2 separate regions of the Homo sapiens genome follow, and region 2 is linked to region 1. Evidence: promoter capture Hi-C in human tissues and cell types (Jung and others, 2019). All regions are on one chromosome and are shown on one strand. Each heading gives the region's core, a stretch centred on a gene start or on the middle of the fragment in contact. The rest is flanking DNA. Distances are from core to core; before and after follow the strand shown. Region 1 holds the start of UBL5 (ubiquitin like 5). Region 2 overlaps ZNF121 (zinc finger protein 121).

Region 1 (3,439 bases), core at 286-2,785:
CTCACACCCAACACTTTGGGAGGCTGAGGCAGGCGGATCACGAGGTCAGGAGATCGAGACCATCCTGGCTAACACAGTGAAACCCCGTCTCTACTAAAAATACAAAAAAATTAGCCGAGGGTGGTGGGGGGCGCCTGTAGTCCCTGTTACTCGGGAGGCGGCTGAGGCAGGACAACGGCGTGAACCCGGGAGGCGGAGCTTGCCGTGAGCCCAGATCACGCCACTGCACTCCAGCCTGGGCGACAGAGCGAGACTCCATAAATAAATAAATAAATAAATAAATAAAATTAAAAAAAAAACAGTAAAAATCCCACGGCCGGGGAAATCAGGACCAAACCAGTAAGGAGCAGCTCTTTAGGCATAAGCACGCGCATTAAAGACAAAAAGTATCCTTAACATGATAAGGATAACCAGCTCATTAGCGCTCATGCATATGGACGGCATATCATGAATGGAGGCGGCTCTCAAGCACACAGGGGCCAAAGTAAGCAACACACCTATCATTCAAAAAGGTAGACACTGGCTAGATATTAGGCAGCCTTGGGAAGAGAAAAAAAGCCTGGCCAATAAGGTGAAACCCCATCTCTACTAAAAGTACAAAAATTAGCCGGGCGTGGTGGCGGGCGCCTGTAATCCCAGCTACTTACTCGGGAGGCTGAGGCAGGAGAATCGCTTGAACCCGGAAGGCGGAGGTTGCGGTGAGCCGGCACCGCGCCATTGCACTCCAGCCTGTGCAACAGAGCGAGACTACGTCTCAGAAAAAAAAAAAAAAAAAGACCCAAACTATACCAAGCTGGGGCTGATCTTATCTCGCAGAGGTCAGTCCGCTCTCCCCACTCCGAGAGTGGAATACTGTGCTTAATAAACTTGCAGCTTTGCCATCTCTGTGTGTCTGGTCCAAATCTTTCTTCAGGACACCAAGAGCCTGGAACTGTCCGGCACCATGCGGTAACAGCAGCTGTTGGGCAGCGTAGAGTCTACTCTAGGATCAAGCTTCGCCTACTGACTGGAGTCCGTATCCCGGGGGAACGCGATGGCCAGAGGGAAGAGGTGAGCCAAATGCTCACCAAGCCCAGCCCTGAATGAACCCAGGGGGTCAGAAGGGATGACTGCAGAACTCGTCCCCCACCCCCACCCTCCGCCCTTGCTCCTAGTTGCCGCTGCAAGAGGCTTCGGGCTCAGGATCAGGAGCTTACCCCTACTCCCGGGACCCTCTGGCGTCCCCACCATGTGACCGAGTCTCCCTGCAACAAACAATGACTTCAAACGAGCTGGGCGCCGGCGCCTGACCTCTGACTCTCGCTCCACGCCCCTTCCCTGGCCACAAACCCGCCGAGGCCCCCCTCTCTACCCGGCGCGCCTACCACAGGCGCGACACCTGTCAAGCCTTGGGACACCGAAACCGTACCTGGGAACAGCAAACACACCACAGACTGCAGACCCGGAAGAACTTGTCCCAGTGTTGACCACACCCCCTGGCTAGGGGCAGGGCTTCCGGCCTCGAACTTTAACTTCCGCTTCCGGTTCCTAGCGTTAACTGCGACCGGGGTTCAGCGCTCGGGTGAGGAGCTGGTGGCGTCGGCAGGTTCGAGGCGATTCGAGGTGAGGGGGTCAAGCGGAGAGGCTCGGAGTCGGAGAAAGCTGTCGCGACCCAGCCACCCAGGGTCTGGGGTCGGTGGGAGGTGAGGCCAGGGAGTTTTGTGGCAGGGCTTTCAGGCGGCGAGAAGGGGCGGAGGCGCGGCTCCCCGGGGTTCGCGGCCCTGGGACAGGGGACTTGGGGCCTGGGAGTATTCGAGTCCGGGGGGTTGGGGGCAGAACGGAAGGCTCAGTAACCTGGAATTTTAGGGCCTGGGACTGGGAGACTTGTAGGCTGGGGCTTCTGGGCCTGGGAGACGCCTGAAGCTCTGACTTTGCTGCCTCCCACCCACCCCCCGCTTTGTGTAGCTCCAGCTAGGATGATCGAGGTTGTTTGCAACGACCGTCTGGGGAAGAAGGTCCGCGTTAAATGCAAGTATCCACTGGCAGCCGAGAGGCAGTGGTACCCGCAGGGGTGCTTGGCGTGAGGCAGGCAACTCAATCTGTGTTGTCGGATGGTTTTAGTTAAACCCGGGAGAGGGGGCGGATGGGGTCCTGGCAGATGGTATTCTGCCCTAGAATGTCCTCTTCCTCGTTCTACCGCTTCCATTTGCCTTAACTGCTCTGCGCCCAGCACGGATGATACCATCGGGGACCTTAAGAAGCTGATTGCAGCCCAAACTGGTACCCGTTGGAACAAGATTGTCCTGAAGAAGTGGTGAGTGCAGCGGTAGAGCCACTGGGTGGACTGGACTAGGCCGGAAGGTTTTGGTTGGGGGAGCGCTGCAGGCAGCCCTTTGCTTAGGCTTGGCTACCTCATTTGGCCTACAGACTGAAGAGCCTCCTTAGCCTTATCTCTGAAATGTCTCTTTTTCTTAGGTACACGATTTTTAAGGACCACGTGTCTCTGGGGGACTGTATCCTTTGTGTGACTTTTTGAGGAAGCATCTACATACCCAGCCTCGGTTATCTGTTCAAAACTAAAGTCTGCATGAGCTTATGCATATTAAGTGTTTAACTTAATACGTGGCACATGGTGAGCACTTAGAAAATGGGAGCTAGGTAATTATTTGGTTGGGGAGGAGAGTGGTTGGTGAAATAGTTTGACTTCAAGTTCAAAATATTTATTACTGACCTCCACCTGAGTGCTGGACAGTAGGTCAGGGTGGGGTGAGACTCAGGCATATCTATTGTGCAAAAGGAGCAGAAACTTTTTACAATTTTTATTTTATTTATTTATTTTTTTGAGACAGTCTGGCTCTGTCGCCCAGGCTGGAGTGCAGTGGCACGATCTTGACCCACTGCAACCTCCACCTCCCGGGTTCAAGCAATTCTGCCTCAGCTTCCCAAGTAGCTGGGATTACAGGTGTGTGCCACCACTCCCTGCTAGTTTTTGTATTTTTAGTAGAGATGAGGTTCCACCATGTATGCCAGGCTAGTCTCAAACTCCTGGCCTCAAGTGATCCTCCCGCCTCGGCCTCCCAAAGTGCTGGGATTATAGCCGTGAGCCACTGTGCCTGGCCTAGAAGGAACAGAAACTTTTTTTTTTTTTTTTGAGATGGAGTTTTGCTCTTGTTGCCCAGGCTGGAGTGCAGTGGTACAATCTTGGCTCACTGCAGCCTCTACCTCCCAGGTTTAAGCGATTTTCCTGTCTCAGCCTTCCAAGTAGCTGGGATTACAGGTGCCCACCACCACACCCAGCTAACTTTTTGTATTTTTAGTAGAGACAGGGTTTCATCGTGTTGGCCAGGCTGGTCTCAAACTCCTGACGTCAAGTGAGCCACCTGCTTCGTCCTCTCAAAGTGCTGGGATTACAGGTGTGAGCCACTGCACCCAGCCAGAAATTCTTTTGTAAAGTTTTGGT
Region 2 (3,439 bases), core at 337-2,836, 260 kb before region 1:
GCCGAGATCATGCCACTGCACTCCAGGCTGGGCAACAGAGCAAGATTCCATCCAAAAACAAAAGAATCAGAGAGCTTCTTTAGGACACCCCTGAAATAAAGTTATTTCTTATGTTCTCAGGGCTGAAATTGTTATAATTAATGAGGCTCATATGCCAGAGCTTCCCTGGCATAATGTGAAGGAGGGAATCCTAGAGAGACAGGAGTGTTGCACTGGATTTACTATGTGTCATCTGTATAGCCCACTCCCCCGCCCTTTGTTGACAGAGCAGAAGACACTCTCTTCACAAAGGTTATTAAGAGAGTAGTGGCGGGAGTGTCGTAATCCTTGAAAAGCTCTGTTGGTATTCTCCTTCATAGGACAGGTATGACTGCAAAGAATACCATCACTGAGATGAGTTCCCTGGGTTTTTTTGTTTGTTTGTTTGTTTTTGAGACGGAGTTTTGCTCTTGTTGCCCAGGATGGAGTGCAATGACGCAGTCTAGGCTCACTGCAACCTCCGCCTCCTGGGTTAAAGCGATTCTCCTGCCTGAGCCTCCCAAGTAGCTGGGATTACAGGCACCTGCCACCACACTTGGCTAATTTTTTGCGAGGGGGGGGGGTATTTTTAGTACAGACGGGGTTTAACCATATTGGCCAGGATGGTCTAGAACTCCTGGCCTCAGGTGATCTGCCCGCCTCAGCCTCCCAAAGTGCTGGGATTACAGGCGTGAGCCACCGCACCCAGCCGAGTTCCCTGCTTTCAATCGAGATGAAGGGGACCCAGAATAGCAGAAATCAAGAAGGTAGTATTTAATCACCAAACACAAGGTGAGAAAATCAACTATCAAGGACAGTGGAAATGTACCAGTAATCAGAATGCCCTGACCTACAGAGATCTGTGGTGGTGGCTAACTGATCGTGCTGTCCCTAGAAATGAAATAGATAAGCAGTTAACAAAGCCTACTCTAAAGAGCCACAAAATATATGTTAGGCATTATGGGCCACATGGTCTCTGTTGCAGCTACTCAACTCTGCTGTTGTAGCATGGAAAATACCATAGAAAATGTAAACAAATGAACACGGTTGTGTTCTGATTAAACTTTATATACAAAAAACACATGGAGAGACAGATATGGCCCATGGGCCATAGTGTACCAATCTCTGTACTTGAATACTGCTCCATCTATGTAAAAAGTCTAAACTATAGTAGCCAAAAACTGGATTTATCCCAGTGGAGAATCATAACCTGTCACTCAATTACCACACTGAAATCATTCATAAATCATGAACTTAGGTGATCACTCCAATTACCGCCATTTTTCAAAATGTAATGCCTTTACTAGATAAATCAACATAATTTCTGTCACTTGGTATGCAGGCATTGACATAGCTAATGTCTTTTCTCCATACCAATTTGAAAAAAACAAGACTTGGTTACCTTTCACCTGGCAGGACCAACAATGTATCTTCATAACATTGCCCCTAGAATGTGTCAGTTCTCGAGGTCTCTGTCGTAACTTAATCCCCAGAGAAAATGACATTCCATGAAACACCACACTAGTACACTATGTTGACACCATTATACTGATCATATCCAATGAATAGGAAGTAGAAAACACATTTTTAAAAATTAGAGACAGGGTCTTACTCTGTCACCCAGGCTGGATTAGAGTGGCATGATCATAGCTCACTACAACTTCAAACTTCAAACTCCCGGGCTCAAGCAATCCTCCTGCCTCAGCCTCCCGAGTATGTGGGACTATAGGCACATACTACCATGCCTGGCTAATTGTTTTTCTTTTTCTTTTTACTATAGACATGAGGTTTCACTACGTTGCCCAGGCTAGTCTCAAACACCTGGTCTCAAGCAATCCTCCCACGTCAGCCTCCCAGTGTTAGGATTACGGGCATGAATCATTGTGCCCTGCCTGAAAATACCTTAGACAACTTTATTAGAAGCATGCAGCATTTACGGTTCCAAAATGGTAGTACAGAAGCAAGCTGGTTTCAATCCCCTGACAGAAAACTACAACCAAATGCATATTGTGAAAATTATCACCAGCAATATCCCTGATCTAAAATATAAAAATTAGGCAGTTTCTGGGGCTACAAAGAAGTGAAAAAACTCCAAGGGAGACGTTAAGAGAATCAAGTTTCCAAGAATGTGGAAAATTTCTACCAATTCACAGTTTCTACACTGGAAAAAACTGAGATCAATGTGGACAACCACCTTCTCCATCATCCTGGGTTCCCTGGTAAAAGATCAGTCCCTCCCTGTCTCAACCCACAGGAAGCATTACAAATGCCTGAAGGGAGAAACATCCCTGAGGACATCCAGGGACAAAGATGGGAGGCAGGACTACCATCCCAGCCCTGGAAACTCTGTTTTATAACTTGGCCAAAGGAGAAGCCAAGTCAGAGTGGCTGTTCAGGAGCACCATACTGTAGGGGTACGCTACACAGGTCACCTGGGCATGAACACACAGCCAGCCTTCCCACAGTGCTGGAATATGCCCTTTAGGACTCCCTCATTCTGAATGGGCAGTATTCTTGATAGTTTGCTATAGCAAAGGCAAACGTGGGTTTAAGATTCCATCTAGTGCTGAAAACGAGGCAGTGACCTAGGGAAATTTTAAAGAAAGAAAATCACTTTCGGAGGCTGAGACAGGCAGATCGCTTAAGCTCGAGTTCAAGACCAGCAACAAGATGAAAACCCATCTCTACTAAAAAGTACAAAAAGTAGCCAGGTGTGGTGGCGTGCACCTCACCTACTCAGGAGGCTGAGGTGGGAGGATTGCTTCAGCCTGGGAGGTAGAGGCTGCAGTAAGCCATGGTCACACCACGGCACTGCAACCTGGGTGACAGAGAGAGACCTTGTCTCAAAACAACAACAAAAAAGATAAAAAGAAAACATACCCAATAAAAACCACAAGCCAGACAAAGACTGTAATAAATAACTAATCCTTCAATGCACAGACACAGATGTACATCCACAAGAAACAACAGCAAATGGGGAACCACGACCTCCTAAAATGGACGAAAATAGTATCAGTGACTGAACCTAATGAAATGACAATATGTGAGCTCCCTAAGAATTCAAAATAACAGTTTTAAGGAAATTCAGTGATCTCCAAAATAACACAGAAGAGCAACTCAGAAATGTATCAGAAAAAACTTTAGAATATATTAACAACAACAAAAAAGAGAAATCTTACAACTGAGAAATACTCAACTCAAAAGTTCACGGTAGAGGCTCTCAACAGCAAGATGGATCAGAGGAAAGATTCACTGAGCTTGAAGAAAAGCTATTTGAAAATATAGCCAGAAGAGAAGAATGAAAAGGAACTAAGATTGTCGGCAAGATGCAGAAAATTACCTTGAAAGACCAAACCTAGGAATCACTGGTGTTCAAGAGGGAATGCAGCAAGTGCAAGGGGTAAGCTTTGAAAGCTTTATT

Evidence for each region. Contacts are between HindIII fragments. The study calls those that stand out against the background at their distance.
Region 2: a fragment that was not itself captured here is called in contact with the fragment with the promoter of UBL5 in region 1 in 1 of the 25 tissues and cell types used here (neural progenitor cells).

Annotation. Positions count from the first base shown.
Region 1 is chr19:9,826,383-9,829,821 of GRCh38, forward strand. UBL5 (ubiquitin like 5) reads left to right here and starts at 1,536. Exons shown (of 5, transcript NM_001048241.3): 1 at 1,536-1,602; 2 at 1,945-2,011; 3 at 2,210-2,293; 4 at 2,455-2,492. The coding sequence starts at 1,956. RefSeq lists enhancers at 1,118-1,842, 1,253-1,302 and a silencer at 1,346-1,652. The HindIII fragment of the contact is 8,707 bases long and covers 1-3,439 here.
Region 2 is chr19:9,570,152-9,573,590 of GRCh38, forward strand. The region is part of intron 1 of ZNF121 (zinc finger protein 121); the gene reads right to left. Among named protein-coding and RNA genes, the nearest start is that of ZNF121, 13 kb to the right of the region's middle. The HindIII fragment of the contact is 3,682 bases long and covers 1-3,427 here.